2 separate regions of the Homo sapiens genome follow, and region 2 is linked to region 1. Evidence: promoter capture Hi-C in 16 types of primary human blood cells and fetal thymus (Javierre and others, 2016). All regions are on one chromosome and are shown on one strand. The core of a region is centred on a gene start or on the middle of the fragment in contact, and the rest is flanking DNA. Distances in the headings are between cores, read along the strand shown. Region 1 holds the start of USP50 (ubiquitin specific peptidase 50). Region 2 overlaps AP4E1 (adaptor related protein complex 4 subunit epsilon 1).

Region 1 (7,095 bases), core at 71-2,570:
TTTTTACATCCCATTTTACAGATGAGATGTCAGGTTTAAATGATGTAGTCATTTACTCATGGGGTGTGTGGTGGTATGTAAAAAAAGGAATATCCACCTATCTGTTTACCTCCCTCCCTCTCTCCCAACATACCTATCCATTAAGATATTTGGATTTACATATATTAAGATTGTCTATATATATTAAGATTGTCTCTATATATGTGATATATATGTATATATTTGTATATATATGTATGTATGGCATATATATTGAAGGCATAATATATGCACATTAAGAGCATGAATATATATATCTTAAGAGCACACATATGTGTATATGTGTATGTATATAGCTATATACATATAAACACACACACACACATATACACGGAGAGGAGAAAGAGCACAGACTTTGTAAAAATATAGATCTTAGTTTAAATCCCAACTATGCCGTTTATTAATTATAGGATCTGGGATTCTATGTCCGTTTCTCATCTATAAAATAGGAATAATATCATCTGCCTGATAGGATGGTTGTGAGGATTATGCAGGTATCATGCAAGCTACTTGACACAGGTTCGTCTAAATGACAACTGAAAAATTTTTTTAAGTGATTGATCTAGGATGTCCTTCCCAGTAAGCTACAGGATTAGAGTGTTCATGTGAATTGCCCAGACCTGCCTGCACAGAGAGAACACTGAGGGTTCCAAACGGGACCTCCTCTCCCTGCACAGAGCTTCCTCTTACAATTTTTTGTATTGTGCCAGGCAGCCTGGTATCTATGTCCTCTCGGATTTTTCTTTCCATATATTGTATCTAAAGTTGGGGCTCCATGAGACAGTGACCTTACCTCATACATACTTTTAAGTACAGTTATGCCAGTTTGAAAAGTGTTCACTGTTATAAGCATGGTCATTTTCACTTTTACTCACTGATACCACAGGAGGTCCTAGACTGTCACCCTTTAGGAAGGACATGTATTTATTGCCAAGATATTAGGTACAATCTTCCTTCCTTTCCGGGGACCTTCCATGGGTCACACCTGGGAGAACCCTCCTGAATGCAGTGTGTGTCCCCTGACTCCTCTGAGCTTGACTTTCCCACCACTGGGCTAATCTAGAAAGCTGTAGTAGATCAAGGCTCACAGGACGTGGTAGATATCGAAGTCATCTGCAGGGAGAGACGGCTGAGAAGTCATTTTAATGGAACCACGTTGGACTTTTGCTTCTATTCAGGAGCTACATCTATTCCTTTCAACTTCATTTCTCTGAGCCTGTTAACGCTGGCTTTTTGTTTTAAACAATTGATATGCTCCTCTCTCTTCCAGTAGCTGCGAACTGATTTTCACCTGTATCAGGCACCACTCCAACTTGGATTTTCCGTACATCATAATCCTTTCCATTCACCTTCAAGATTCTATCATGTTGCCATGAGACACTGTTACTGGGTTGTCTGAAATGTTTTAGAAAGATTAGGCTCCAGAGAATGAACTACACATATAACCTCTCTTCCTTCTTCCATCACTCAGTTTCTCTTGTGTATATATATATTACACATACACACACACACACTTAACATGTGCACAAAAATTTACCGCCACTGAGTTAGTGGACACTACGGCAACCCTGCCTGCTCTGGGCACTCATTCCCCCTTCCCAGCGACTACACCACACCTAGGAGCCCTGAGGGAATTTCCTCACCCCGGGGAGCGAGGATTTCCACTTCTATTCAGGAGCTAGATCTATCCGGACTGAATACCGGATCAGAAAAAAAAAATTGCCATAAAAGAACATTATGGGAACGATTGATGAAATTTGAATATGGATAATATGCAGATAGTTTTTTCTATTAATGTTGAATCTTCTGAATTTGATAAGATTGTACTGTGTTTATGCAAGGGGATGCCCTTGTTCTTAGAAAATACACACTGAAGTTTTTCGGGGCACAGGGGCATGATATATGCAACCTATTTTCAAACGGTTCAGGAAGCACACAGGGACAGGAGGACAGGAAGGAAGGGGACTGATAAAGCACATACTATAAAGCCAGTGCACCCACACGCCAGCAGTTGGTGATTCCGAGTGAAGGCCCACTAAAGAGCACTATTCTTGCAACTCTTCTGCAAGTTTAAAAAATTAAAAAGAGGCCGGGCGCATCGGCTCACGCCTGTAATCCCAGCACTTTGGGAGGCTGAGGCGGGAGGATCACGAGGTCAGGAGACAGAGACCATCCTGGCTAACACGGTGAAACCCCATCTCTACTAAAAATACAATTAACTGGGCGTGGTGGCGGGCGCCTGTAGTCCCAGCTACTCGGGAAACTGAGGCAGAAGAATGACGTGAACCCGGGAGGCGGAGCTTGCCGTGAGCCGAGATCGCGCCACTGCACTCCAGCCTGGGCAACAAAGCGAAGACTCGGTCTCAAAAAAAGAAAAAAAAAATTAAAAAGAAAGAATATATTACACATATTTTTTGCTAAAATGGATTTCTCTCCAGATATATGACTGGTAAGTCAAAAAAAGCAAGGTGTTGAGGAATCCATAGTATGCACCCCAACTTATGTCTAAATGGTTAAAAAAAACCCACATATATGCTCAGGCTACACGAAGATATTTAGAATATTCATTCTTTGACACCTGGATAAGGAATCCTGGCAAGTAGAGCTGTCCTCTCTTGCAGGTATTTGATATTTGCGATGTATTTACAGAGGTATCTCTCCAAGTCACCTCAGTGGTGGTTCTGCAGGACTTAAATCCTGTAAACTTGCTCTATTTGTCAGTGAGGCTCTCCCAAGTCCTTCATTTTCTCCTAATCAATAGGGTCTTTTAAAAGTTTCATTTTGTGTTTGATGCTGGTAGGTAAAAATACAATTATTTGTCATATGTTGGTTGTCTATCCAGGAACCTTTCTAACCTGACTTACTCTTTAATTTTTTAATTTTTATTTAAATAGAGACAGGGTCTCGCTATGTTGCCCAGGCTGGTCTCGAACTCATGGGCTCAAGCAATCCTCCCACCTCACCCTCCCAAAGTGCTAGGATTACAGATGTGAGCCCCTGAGTATGGCCTAACTTGACTTACTTAAGTCTAATTTTTACATAGGTTCTTTGGATTTTTTATAAACACATTCAAGTTGTCTGCAACAAAATCAGTTTAATTTTTTTCTGAGTCTTACTTCTTCTTTACTAGTGAGGACTGCCAGTAAAATAGTGAAAATAGTGAAAAATTGTGAACATAGTAAAATAGTGAATAGAAGTGGAGATAGCTAATTGCTTAACTCAGAGAGAAAGCTTTGGATAATTCACCATTAAGTATGATGTTTGCAGACATAGTATTGAAGAGTTGTAATCATGAATGGATAGTGAGTATGACCAGATTTCTCTGTATTTATTGAGGTAATCATGAGATTTTCTTTCTTATTCTGTTATTGTTGTTCATTATCAATGATGGTCACATATTAATCTTCTATTCCTCAGGTATATTTTGTTTGAGCTGTAGTTATTATTTTCGTGAATTGTTGGGTTCTAGTTGTTAATCTTTTTGTTCAAGGGTTTTGTATCTATGTTCATGAGTTAGATTATCTATGTGTTAATATTCTGTGCTCTATAACAAACTACTAAGCTTAGTTTAAAACCAGACATGGGGCTGGGTGTGGTGGCTCATGCCTGTAATCCCAGCACTTGGGGAGGCCGAGGTAGGAGAATCGCTTGAGTCCAGGAATTCAAGACCAGTTTGGGCAACACAGTGAGAATATCCCCCACCCCCACCCCCATTCCCCCCCACCCCACTCTCCACCCTCCGTCTACCAAAAAAAATAATAATAATAATTAGCCGGGCATGGTGGTGTATGACTGTAGTTCCAGCTACTCAGGAAGCCAAGGTGGAAGGATCACTTGAGCCCAGGACGTCATGCTTGCAGTGAGCTGTGATTGTGCCATTGCACTCCAGCCTGGGTGACAGAGACCCTGTCTCAAAAAGAACCCCAAAAGCCAGGAGTGGTGGCTTACACTTGCAATCCCAGCGTTTTGGGAGGCTGAGGCGGGTAGATCACTTGAGGCCAGGAGTTAGAGACCAGCCTGGCCAACATGGCGAAACCCTGTCTCTACTAAAAATACAAAAAGAATAGCTGGGCATGGTGGCACGGGCCTGTAATCCTAGCTACTCTGGAATCTGAGGCACGAGAATCCCTTGAACCTGGGAGGCGGAAATTGCAGTGAGTCAAGATCATGCCACTGCCCTCTAGCCTGGGCAATAGAACAAGACTGTCTCAAAACAAAACAAAACAAAACTCAAAAAGGAAAACCAGATATAGTTTAGCTGGGATCTCACATTGCATTTAGTTTTCATGTCCCTTTTAGGCTCCTTCAACCTGAAACGGTTCTATGTATTTCCTTGATTTTCATGAACTTGACTTTTGAAGATTACTGACCAATTATTGTGAAGAATATCCCTTAATTTCTATTCAGGAGCTACATCTATCCGGACTGAATCCCAGATCAGAAAAAAAAAATTGCCATAAAAGAACATTAGGGGAACTATGTTCTCTGATGTTTCCTCATTAGATTCACATTATGCATTTTTATGAAGAATATCACAGAAGTGAAGCTATATTCTTATTGCATTGTATTAAATGTTATACAATTTTGATTTGTCCCAGCACTGGTTATGTGAACTGTGATTAACTGTGATAACTTGAATGAGGTAGGGTCTCCCAGGTTTCTCCAATGTAGTTTTTCCTTTTGTAATCATCAGGAAGCATTTTGCAGGGAGGACTTTGAGACTGTGTAAATGGTCTGTTCCTCATCAAACTTTCATACATTAGTTTTAGTAATTGATGTTTCTTGGCTGGATTTTTGCTATGGTGATTGCCAAGTGGTGATTTTCTAATATCATTATTCTGACTACATTCATCTGTTGGTACTCGACTATAAAGAGAAGTTTCTCCATTTCTTTTTTTTTTTTTTGTGACAGGGTCTCACTGTCCCCCAGGTTGGAGTGCAGTGGCACAATCTCAGCTTCCTGCAACCTCCACTTCCCAGGCTTAAGCGATTCTCCAGCTTCAGCCTCCTGTGTAGCTGGGACTACAGGTGCACGCCACCAATGCCTGGATAATTTTTGTAATTTTTGTAGAGACAGGGTTTTGCCACGTTGCCCACGCTGGTCTTGAACTCCTGAGCTCGAAGCAATCCACCTTGGCCTCCCAAAGTGTTGGGATTACAGGCGTGAGCCACCGCACCTGGCTGTCTCCATTTATTCTTTTATTTTAATCAGCATGGACTCACAAATTCCCGTTTTGTTCAATGGATTACATCTGATATTTTATTTATTTATTTTTAAATTATACTTTAAGTTCTGGGATACATGTGCAGAACGTGCAGGTTACATAGGTATATGTGTGCCATGGTGGTTTGCTGCACCCATGCTATCCTTCCTCTAGCTCCCCACTCCCTGACAGGCCCCGGTGTGTGATGTTCTCCTCCCTGTGTCCATGTGTTCTCATTGTTCAACTCCTGCTTATGAGTGAGAACATGTGGTATTTGGTTTTCTGTTCTTCTGTTTGCTGAGAATGATGGTTTCCAGCTTCATCCATGTCCCTGCAAAGGACATGAACTCATCCTTTATGGGTGCGCATCTGATATTTTCATGTTTTTTTGTGTGTGTGTTTTTTGAGACAGGGTCTCGCTTTGTTGCTCACTGGAGTGCAATGGCATGATCTCGGCTCACTGCAGCCTCAATTTCTTGGGATCAAGCAATCCTTCTGCCTCAGCCTCCTGAGTAGTTGGGACTACATCACATGCCACGAAGCCCAGCTATTTTTAAATTTTGTTGTAGAGACGGGGGTTTCACTATGTTGCCCCGGCTGGTCTTGAGCTCTTGGTCTCAAGCTCAACCACTTTGCCCTCTTAAAGTGCTGGGATTATAGGTGTGAGCCACCGCACCTGGCCATGATTTATTTTAGATGTTCAAATGGTCTCAAGATTAGCCTGCAGGAAGCCCTTCAAGATGTCTTCTGTATCCATTTGACATGTCCTTATTGTTCTTTGAGCACTTCCTTTGTTTGGCACAGCAAGATCTTCTAGAGTACCATTCCTGCCCCAATCCTGAAGTCAGGTGTTTCTCCGAGCCCTGGTTCCTTTTAGTGAAGAATGGTATTTAGAAACCAAGATCTGGGAGCTGGGTATACTCATGTTATTACAGCGTTGCTGCTTCCAGGTCCTCTATGCATACATACATCCACATCCATAGGTATATCTCTCTACATTTTTTTTTCAGTATTACTACCATACTGAATACATCTTGATATTTTGGGAACCATGAATTCATGCCAGTAATTCCAATTCCAAACCTACATTTCAGGATTTATTCTAGTTTCCTCCCTTTTACATATTTACAACCCCATCTCCAACAGAGAGGCACTTCCCATTGTCCTCAATGTATTTCCTTATTTGATCAACCCCTCTGCATATAACTAATCTCCTGTCGCTGCTGACATCAACCCCACTCCCCTCTTTACACAACACACAAGCACTATCCTCACCCTGCTTTGCTGACACCCCCCACCAGGTCACTGTTGCCTCCCAACATGAACACCTATGATTGGTCTGAAACCTAATGGATTTTAGACTAAATTATGAATGAATGAGGATGAAAGGGACCTGGGGCCTGGTCTTCCTGTTAGTGTGTGTGTGTTTTTGAGACAGCATCTTGCCATGTTGTTAGGCACATCCTGAACTCCCAGGCTCAAATTATCCTACTGCCTCAGCCTCCCAAGTAGCTGGGATTATAGGCGTAAGCCACCACTCCTGGCCCTAGTGGATTACTTTGTAAAAATCCTCTCCTTCCCCTCCAACTTTTTTATTTCCTTCTAATGGCCAAGAAGTGTATTGTTTCTATATTCTATTTATTTCCTTTAAATATTAAAAAAAAAATAAAAGTAACCTGTTACCTTAATCTATTTGGGTCTAAGGTTTGAATAGCAAAGAATACTGTTTTATCCCAACCTATTTGGTTTCTAAACTCTGGATGCCACGAGTCTGTGTGAAAATGTACGTTAATCTATGTAGTTCCTGAGCTCACATAGTGAAAGTGAAGATAGCAAGGGTTACCCGTATTTA
Region 2 (6,871 bases), core at 3,311-5,810, 390 kb after region 1:
TGCAGTGAAAACGTAAGGTGATGGAGCATGTACACACATTAGAAATGATTGTCTTAATTATATTTTATTTTATATCATGCCAGCCTATCCTAACGTGGAGCTCTAGTTGGAGTTACTGGAATTTATGTTTTAAAATCATGAATTTTATATTAATGCATCAGATCTTATTGGTCTAAAAAAGACTTACTGCCATCCATTGTTATCAGGAAGTAACTTGGGAGGCATTTAGTGAATTTATTAAATTCATTAACTCACTATCTTCCTTTTTCTTGCCTTCATGGATAAATTTGGATAATACATATATACAAAGATGAGTAAGCTAGTCCTTACCTTCACAGCACTCAGGTGACCAGTAATTAGGCTCAGTTATTAATAGAGTGGAACTTTCTTATAATGTTATGGAACATTAGAATGTTTTCTCCTTTTTTGTCTCAACTCTAATGAGATTTTATTTTAACATAAATCTTACATTTTGTTGGACATTATTGCTCAATGTAGCAAAGTAAAAAGTTATAACCGGATTCTAAAGTATTTAATTGAAAAAACCAATTTACTGGAAAAGTCTGTTGTATTTATGGTCTTTTATATCTATTTGAATATTTTCTTGTGTTTTGTAGTTTTGTGCTTCTTAGATTTATTAAGATTTATCTTGATCTTGTTCACAAATGTTTCTTCATTTCATGTGGTTAAGACTCATGCCAGACACTGGCTTTTTAAATTGAGGAACTAGACTATAATCTAGGTATAATATTACCAATTTTTTTTGGGGGGCAGGGAAGGATTGGTAATGTCTGCTGTATGGTTATCTTCTGAGAAAGAAATGCTTACACAATAAAACGAAGGATTTTAGAATGTGGTTCTGGATTCTTAATTATTGGATATTTATACTTCAGTCAAGACAGAATGAAAGTACATGCACTTAACATTGAACTTTCTAGCTGTATATTTGGAAAAAAAGACATTTTCTGAAAGATGTAATTAATTTATATAGTCCCAAATTATTTTGATATTTTCATTTATTTTATGGCACAGTTTCTCTGCAAGACCACTGTATGTATCCTGTGTTGCTGGTATTTTTTTTTTCTTCTATTAGTGCTTTTTGAATTTGTAAAACATACAAAATACCAGCTAAGAAGCTATAGTTTTTCACATTGGCCTCTTGGAGAGGATATTTGTCTAACAAGCGTGGAGGCAGAGTGCTAGGGCACTAATGCACTTTTTTTTTCCCACAGTATCTTCCTCATCACAGTTATTCTTACTGTAATCAGTGACCATAATGACATATGAATGGTCCAAACCTATTAATTCCACAAAATATCTTTTTTTATATTTAATGTAAATGTAAGTAAAAATTTTCTTTCTGAAGAACCTAGTTACTACTCAAGGAAAGACTAGTATTTGAAAACTTTTTCATGGTATCTGGGTAAAATACAGTTAATATGCTATCTGAAATAATATGAATATATGAAGTATTACTATGGTAACTTAGAAATATTCTATTGAAAGAAAATTATAAAATATAGTATGTTCAACCAAATAAAAACTTGGTTTATAAACTAGGCACAGTGAGGAAAGAGTTGATTGACATATATATCTCATTGGTTAACTAGTCAACTTTGATAAAGTAGGAAGTTCAAGCTCATGAAAAACAGCAAACCTTTTAAGAAGTGAAATTTCCATAACTTCATCATAAAATGAATTTCTTTCACTTCTCTTCTGTAGATCCTCAGTTTTAAAGAGAAGTTTGAAAAACTGTTTTATTGGGTTAGAATACTATAATTCTACTGCAAATAAAATATCTTTTAAACAGGACAAGTGAATTAATGTATGATGTTCTTGATGAATCCTTACGAAGAGCTGAGTTAAATCACAATGTCACATATGGTAGGTAATATATGTAAATATTACTCTAATGACTAATAATGTTTTTTAGTATTGCAGTTAAATCTGTGTTAGAATGCTATAAATTCCAATAGAATTTTATACACTGATTTTAAGATAGTTCTTTGGATTATTATTTTTTCAATGTAAGCATTTAATTACTGATAGATAAGAGTAATTTGAACTCATGGCATGTTCTAAATGTTGACCTAAGTTTATTATTATAATTGTCTCTATTGAAAACACATATCAATTATCTATTTTTTTCAAGTATCTAATTGACTGTGAAGATAACTCCATAGATTTGTTCCATGCTTGGTAAACATTTACGGTATTCAAAGACAGTTCTTAAATAAATCAATCGACTAGTTGTCAGATATTTTATTAAATTTCTGTTATTTGTCAGTCCCTATGCAAGGTACTTAGAATACAGCAGTGAATAAAACATTATGGGGCTTATAAACTAGATTGATGGACAGGGATAGGTGTTGTTAATGTTACAAAAGAGAATTGCAGGGCATGGTGGGAGAATATAGCAGCTAGTCTTAGGTGAGGGGAAGAATAAAGAAGGTTTTCCTGAGAAAGAAATATTTAAGAAGACATCTGAAGGATGAATAGGATATAGGCAGGAATATATAGACGTGGAATAATAGTATACTATTTTGTGAAGAGACAATAAATTGTTACATGCAATTTAAAAATTAGTAATAGGAGACAAGAGTAAGTTGAGGGAAGGGGGTAGAAAACTGAGAAAGTAGCCAAAAAAACTTCCAATTTTAACAGCCAACGGGAGGAGCTGTTCTTTTTGATTAGCCTGAGAAAGCTCAGTGAGGAAATTGAGATATTTGGAGCTATTTAAAAGGTAGAACAGTTTGAATTTTGCATGCTCTGGAGGACAACAGTAGAAGAGGCACTGAGAGATGTAACTCAAATGAGAAGTCATTTCTTAATCTGGTAAAATATCATGAAGTAGGAAATGAAGAGCATTACTTTTTCTTTGAGACAAGGATAACCTGCGGACCTTTAAGAACAATGGTTGTAGAAATGTAGGTTAGACCAGAGGACAGAAATTGAACTAGTTTAACTGAAATAAAAAGTGCCTGACAAAGATGCAGTCCAAATAAGGAAAAAGGATTGTGTGTATGAGACTAATACAAGAAAAATAATGCACATGGTAGTGAATTGGGGTGGTAAACTTTGAAGGATAGATTTTTGTTTTGCATGTATGAATGGTAATTAAGGTAATAAGGATGCTTTATTAATTTGTTCAGCCAGCATTTATAGAGTGCCTGTGAAACAAAAACTTGATTGTGTTTTAAACTAGGTGCGGATTGAGGAAAGAGTTGATTGACTTATGTATCTCTCCATGCTAAGTGTGGAAAGTAAAGGGAAGAATAAGGTAGACACAGGCCTTGTCCTTATGAGTATATAGTGTAATAAACAGTTGATATTATATAGGTTCCTGCTATGCAGGAATAAGGGGTCACAGATGTGGATGACCCTTATTGAAGCAGGTGATTTTCTGAGAAGATCTAGAAAAGTGTCAGAATTTTTCCAGTAAGTTAAAGTAATTTAAAGTTTTTTGTTTGCGATGTAACCAGTGTCCAGGATAAGGGTTTGAAAGTCTTTCGGGAAATTCTGCTTAAAATTCAGTTAAAAATCTGCTTTTTTTTTTTCCCTTGCAGAAAGTTTTTTTTATTTTATTTTAATAATTGACATTTCAGCTTTAATTTTTTTATTTTTTTGAATAGGTAATATATGCACATGGGTCAAAATTCAAAAGGTACAAAAGGGTATACAATGAACAGTAAGTGTCCTTTCCACCCTTATCACCCACCACCCAGTTCCCTTTCCTGGGGATAACCACTGTTACCCGTTCCTTTTGATTTGGAGAATACTGTATACCTGAGGAAATATTTTTTAATATTTTCCAGAATGACCCTTTTATTAAGATTGCTTGGCCAGGCATGGTGGCTCACGCCTGTGATCCCAGCACTTTGGGAGGCCGAGGTGGGCGGATCACAAGGTCGGGAGTTCAAGACCAACCTGGCCAATATGGTGAAACCCTGTCTCTACTAAAAATACAAATATTAGCTGGGCATGGTGGCGTGTTCCTGTAATCCCAGCTACTCGGGAGGCTGATGCAGGAGAATTGCTTGAACCGGGACCTGGGAGGCAGAGGTTACAGTGAGCCAAGATCATGCCACTGCACTCTAGCCTTTGCTACATAGCAAGACTCTGTCTCAAAAAAAAAAAATGATTGCTTGAACCAACACCAACAGTTTCTTTCTTTGCAGGCTCTTGGTCCAGTGTTTCACCTTGCTACAGAAACCTTATAGTTCCTGTTGTTTCATTTCCTTTGTTTAGCTTTTCATTGTTATGCTTTTCTCTATATCTGTATTGATAGAGCTTATAACTTACATTGATTATATCAGTGGTAGAGTATTTGCTAGCAATCCTGATATAGGTATTTTACTGCTTAAGAATGTTAATTTTAATTGTAAGCTTCATAAGGGCAGGGACTGTGTCTCTCTTATTAACCAGCATATCTCAGTAGCTGGTACTGTGTTAATGAGTAATATGCTTTAATTGAATTAAAGGAAGAAGAAGTTATTTACTTTATCAGTTATCTAAGTGGGTTTCAGTATTAGTACTTTCTATATTTTATTTTTATGGAAGCTCTATTATTACAATTTAGTGTCTAATCAAGAAATAAATTACATTAAAGACATCTATTGAATATCTGCTATGTGCCAGGCATTGTATAAAGTGGTGTATAGGATATGAAGAAGTATAATATATGACCTTTGTCTTTAAGAAATTCACAATATAGTGGAAAGATAACTTGTTCATGAAAGCTTAATACCAGTGTAAGGCAGAATGTGAAGGGATGGTTCAGGGAAATAAGTATTGTAGGAGTTCCGAGGAAGTAGAGATCATTAAGGGCCTGAGGGCACAGATAGGGATTTACTGATGTGATAGGACCCTGAAAGGTAGATAAGATTTAGATAGGCAGAAGGGAGATTGAAGGGGCTTTTAGGTGGAGGGAACATGAGAGAAGGTGTAGACATGGGGCTATTTAAAAACAGTTTCAGAGACAATGTCTCACCAGTCTGAAAGGATAATTTATGGTGGGGAGCAGTGGAAGGGCGGTATTGTGGAGGACCTGTCACAACAGCCAAATGAGTTTGGATTTGTAAATCCGGAGGTATGGAAGGTTTTTGGATAAGGTACTGATAACATGAGAATATCATTTTTAGTAAATTAGTAAATTGAGAAAATTATATAAAATGGAGTACAAGGGACAAAAGCCATCAAAAGTAGGTAGATAGAAGTACTTTTCCGTTTTTTTTCTCACTAATTTCACCTAAAACCCTTGGATACTATGTATAAGAAACATAAGACTCAGGAAGGTGGAGAACAAGTCAGGCTGGTTAGAGACCTCAGGACACAAGGAAAGAAACAGACACGGTGGTGTGTACCCTGGGTTTTCTTTTTGCCTCGGGTACCCCAGACTGGGTACTGAAGAGCCAGCAGTCTGGAAATGCCAACAGACGCAGACAAAAACACCCCCAGAAAAGCCTGCCCTCTCTCACCAAAGGACCAAGAAGAAAAGGGAAATTAGCAAGGTAGAAAACTTTTAGATGATAACCCCTCTATTCCTTCCAAGCATAGGAAAAAACTGTGGACCCATCCCCTCCAGCAAAGGCTGAGGAAAAAGCCAAGATTTCCATCATCACCAGGTATAATGACATGCCCCAACACACCCTCCCTAACCCCCCACTAGAGTGGTGACAGAAGCCCAAGAGACAGCTGGAATTTCATTGATGCCAGGTGATAAGGAAGGCCCCTTCCTTACGCTGTCAGAGGTGACTTGGGAAGTCTGGATTTTTCCCATCTGGAAGTAGGGAGTAAAGAGGTAATTTTCCCCTCTTTGTGGCCAGGGTTCGGAGGCGTGGGTGTTAGAGAAAGCCTGGTGGACAGTCAGAACTTCCACTCCTGATCAGCGATAATGAGGCCACTCCCTCATAGTGTCACTGGAGGCCACAAAGGAAGCAGTAATGAGGTACCCCTCTCTCTCCCAGGCAGGGTAGAATCAGTTGATACTCCCTCCAACAATAACCAGGAGCCTCTCCATCCCCAGGTATCAAAGGAGACAGAGTAGAGAGCCTGGATTCCATTCCCATTGGGTGATACCTCCTCTCTCCTGCCAGAATAATGTCAGTAGATACTTATTTAACTTAATTAAAGTGAGAGTAAACTCTATTCTGAGGGATAAGGTGTCAGAAGAACTTCACATTTTGTTTGAGCATACATAATCCAACCCAAAATATCTATGATGAAACTGCAGTGTCATAAATGGTGGAACATTATTAATTTTTAATTTAGTAATTTATGCTTTATAGCATTTTAATTAGTACCAAGAGAGTAACCAAGAGTACTGAAGAGTAACCAAGTTCCATGTTGTATTTTTAAGTTTAGAAACCCTCAGTTGTGGCCGGGCAAGGTGGCTCATGCCTGTAATCCCAGCACTTTGGGAGGCTGAGTTGGGCAGATCACTTGAGGTTAGGAGTTCAAAACCAGCCTGGCCAACATGGTGAAACCCTGTCTCTACTAAAAATACAAAAATTAGCTGGCCATGATGGTGCACGCTTGTACTGCCAGCTACTTGGGAGGCCAAGGCAGGAGAATCACTTGAACCTGGGGGGTGGAGGTTGCAGACTGCATCTCAAAAAAAAAAAAAGAAATTCTCAGTTGTATTTTACTTCACCACCACAGAGAGGAGACAGCAGAGTGGCTGCTCTTTCAATTATGAACTTATACTTAGATATTTGTAGAGTTGGAGAATAAAATGACTTAGCTCTGGGTGAGAAAATAATTTAAAAATCAATTTAATTCATTTTCAGCTCAATTATGCCTAAGGAAACTAAAAATAAGTGCTGTTTTTGAACTATTATTTTTTTTCCCATGTTGGCACCCCAGAAACTTT

What was found. The method cuts DNA at HindIII sites, captures the fragments that hold promoters and counts their contacts. A CHiCAGO score of 5 or more calls a contact.
Region 2: a fragment that was not itself captured here is called in contact with the fragment with the promoter of USP50 in region 1 in 3 of 17 cell types (naive CD4 T cells, activated CD4 T cells and total CD8 T cells); the score reaches 6.3 in naive CD4 T cells.

What each region holds. Positions count from the first base shown.
Region 1 is chr15:50,545,346-50,552,440 of GRCh38, forward strand. USP50 (ubiquitin specific peptidase 50) reads right to left here and starts at 1,321. Exons shown (of 7, transcript NM_203494.5): 1 at 1,128-1,321. The coding sequence starts at 1,180. RefSeq lists an enhancer at 5,782-6,296. The HindIII fragment of the contact is 3,769 bases long and covers 1-3,268 here.
Region 2 is chr15:50,932,814-50,939,684 of GRCh38, forward strand. AP4E1 (adaptor related protein complex 4 subunit epsilon 1) reads left to right here. Exons shown (of 21, transcript NM_007347.5): 8 at 1,811-1,884. Among named protein-coding and RNA genes, the nearest start is that of AP4E1, 28 kb to the left of the region's middle. The HindIII fragment of the contact is 353 bases long and covers 4,385-4,737 here.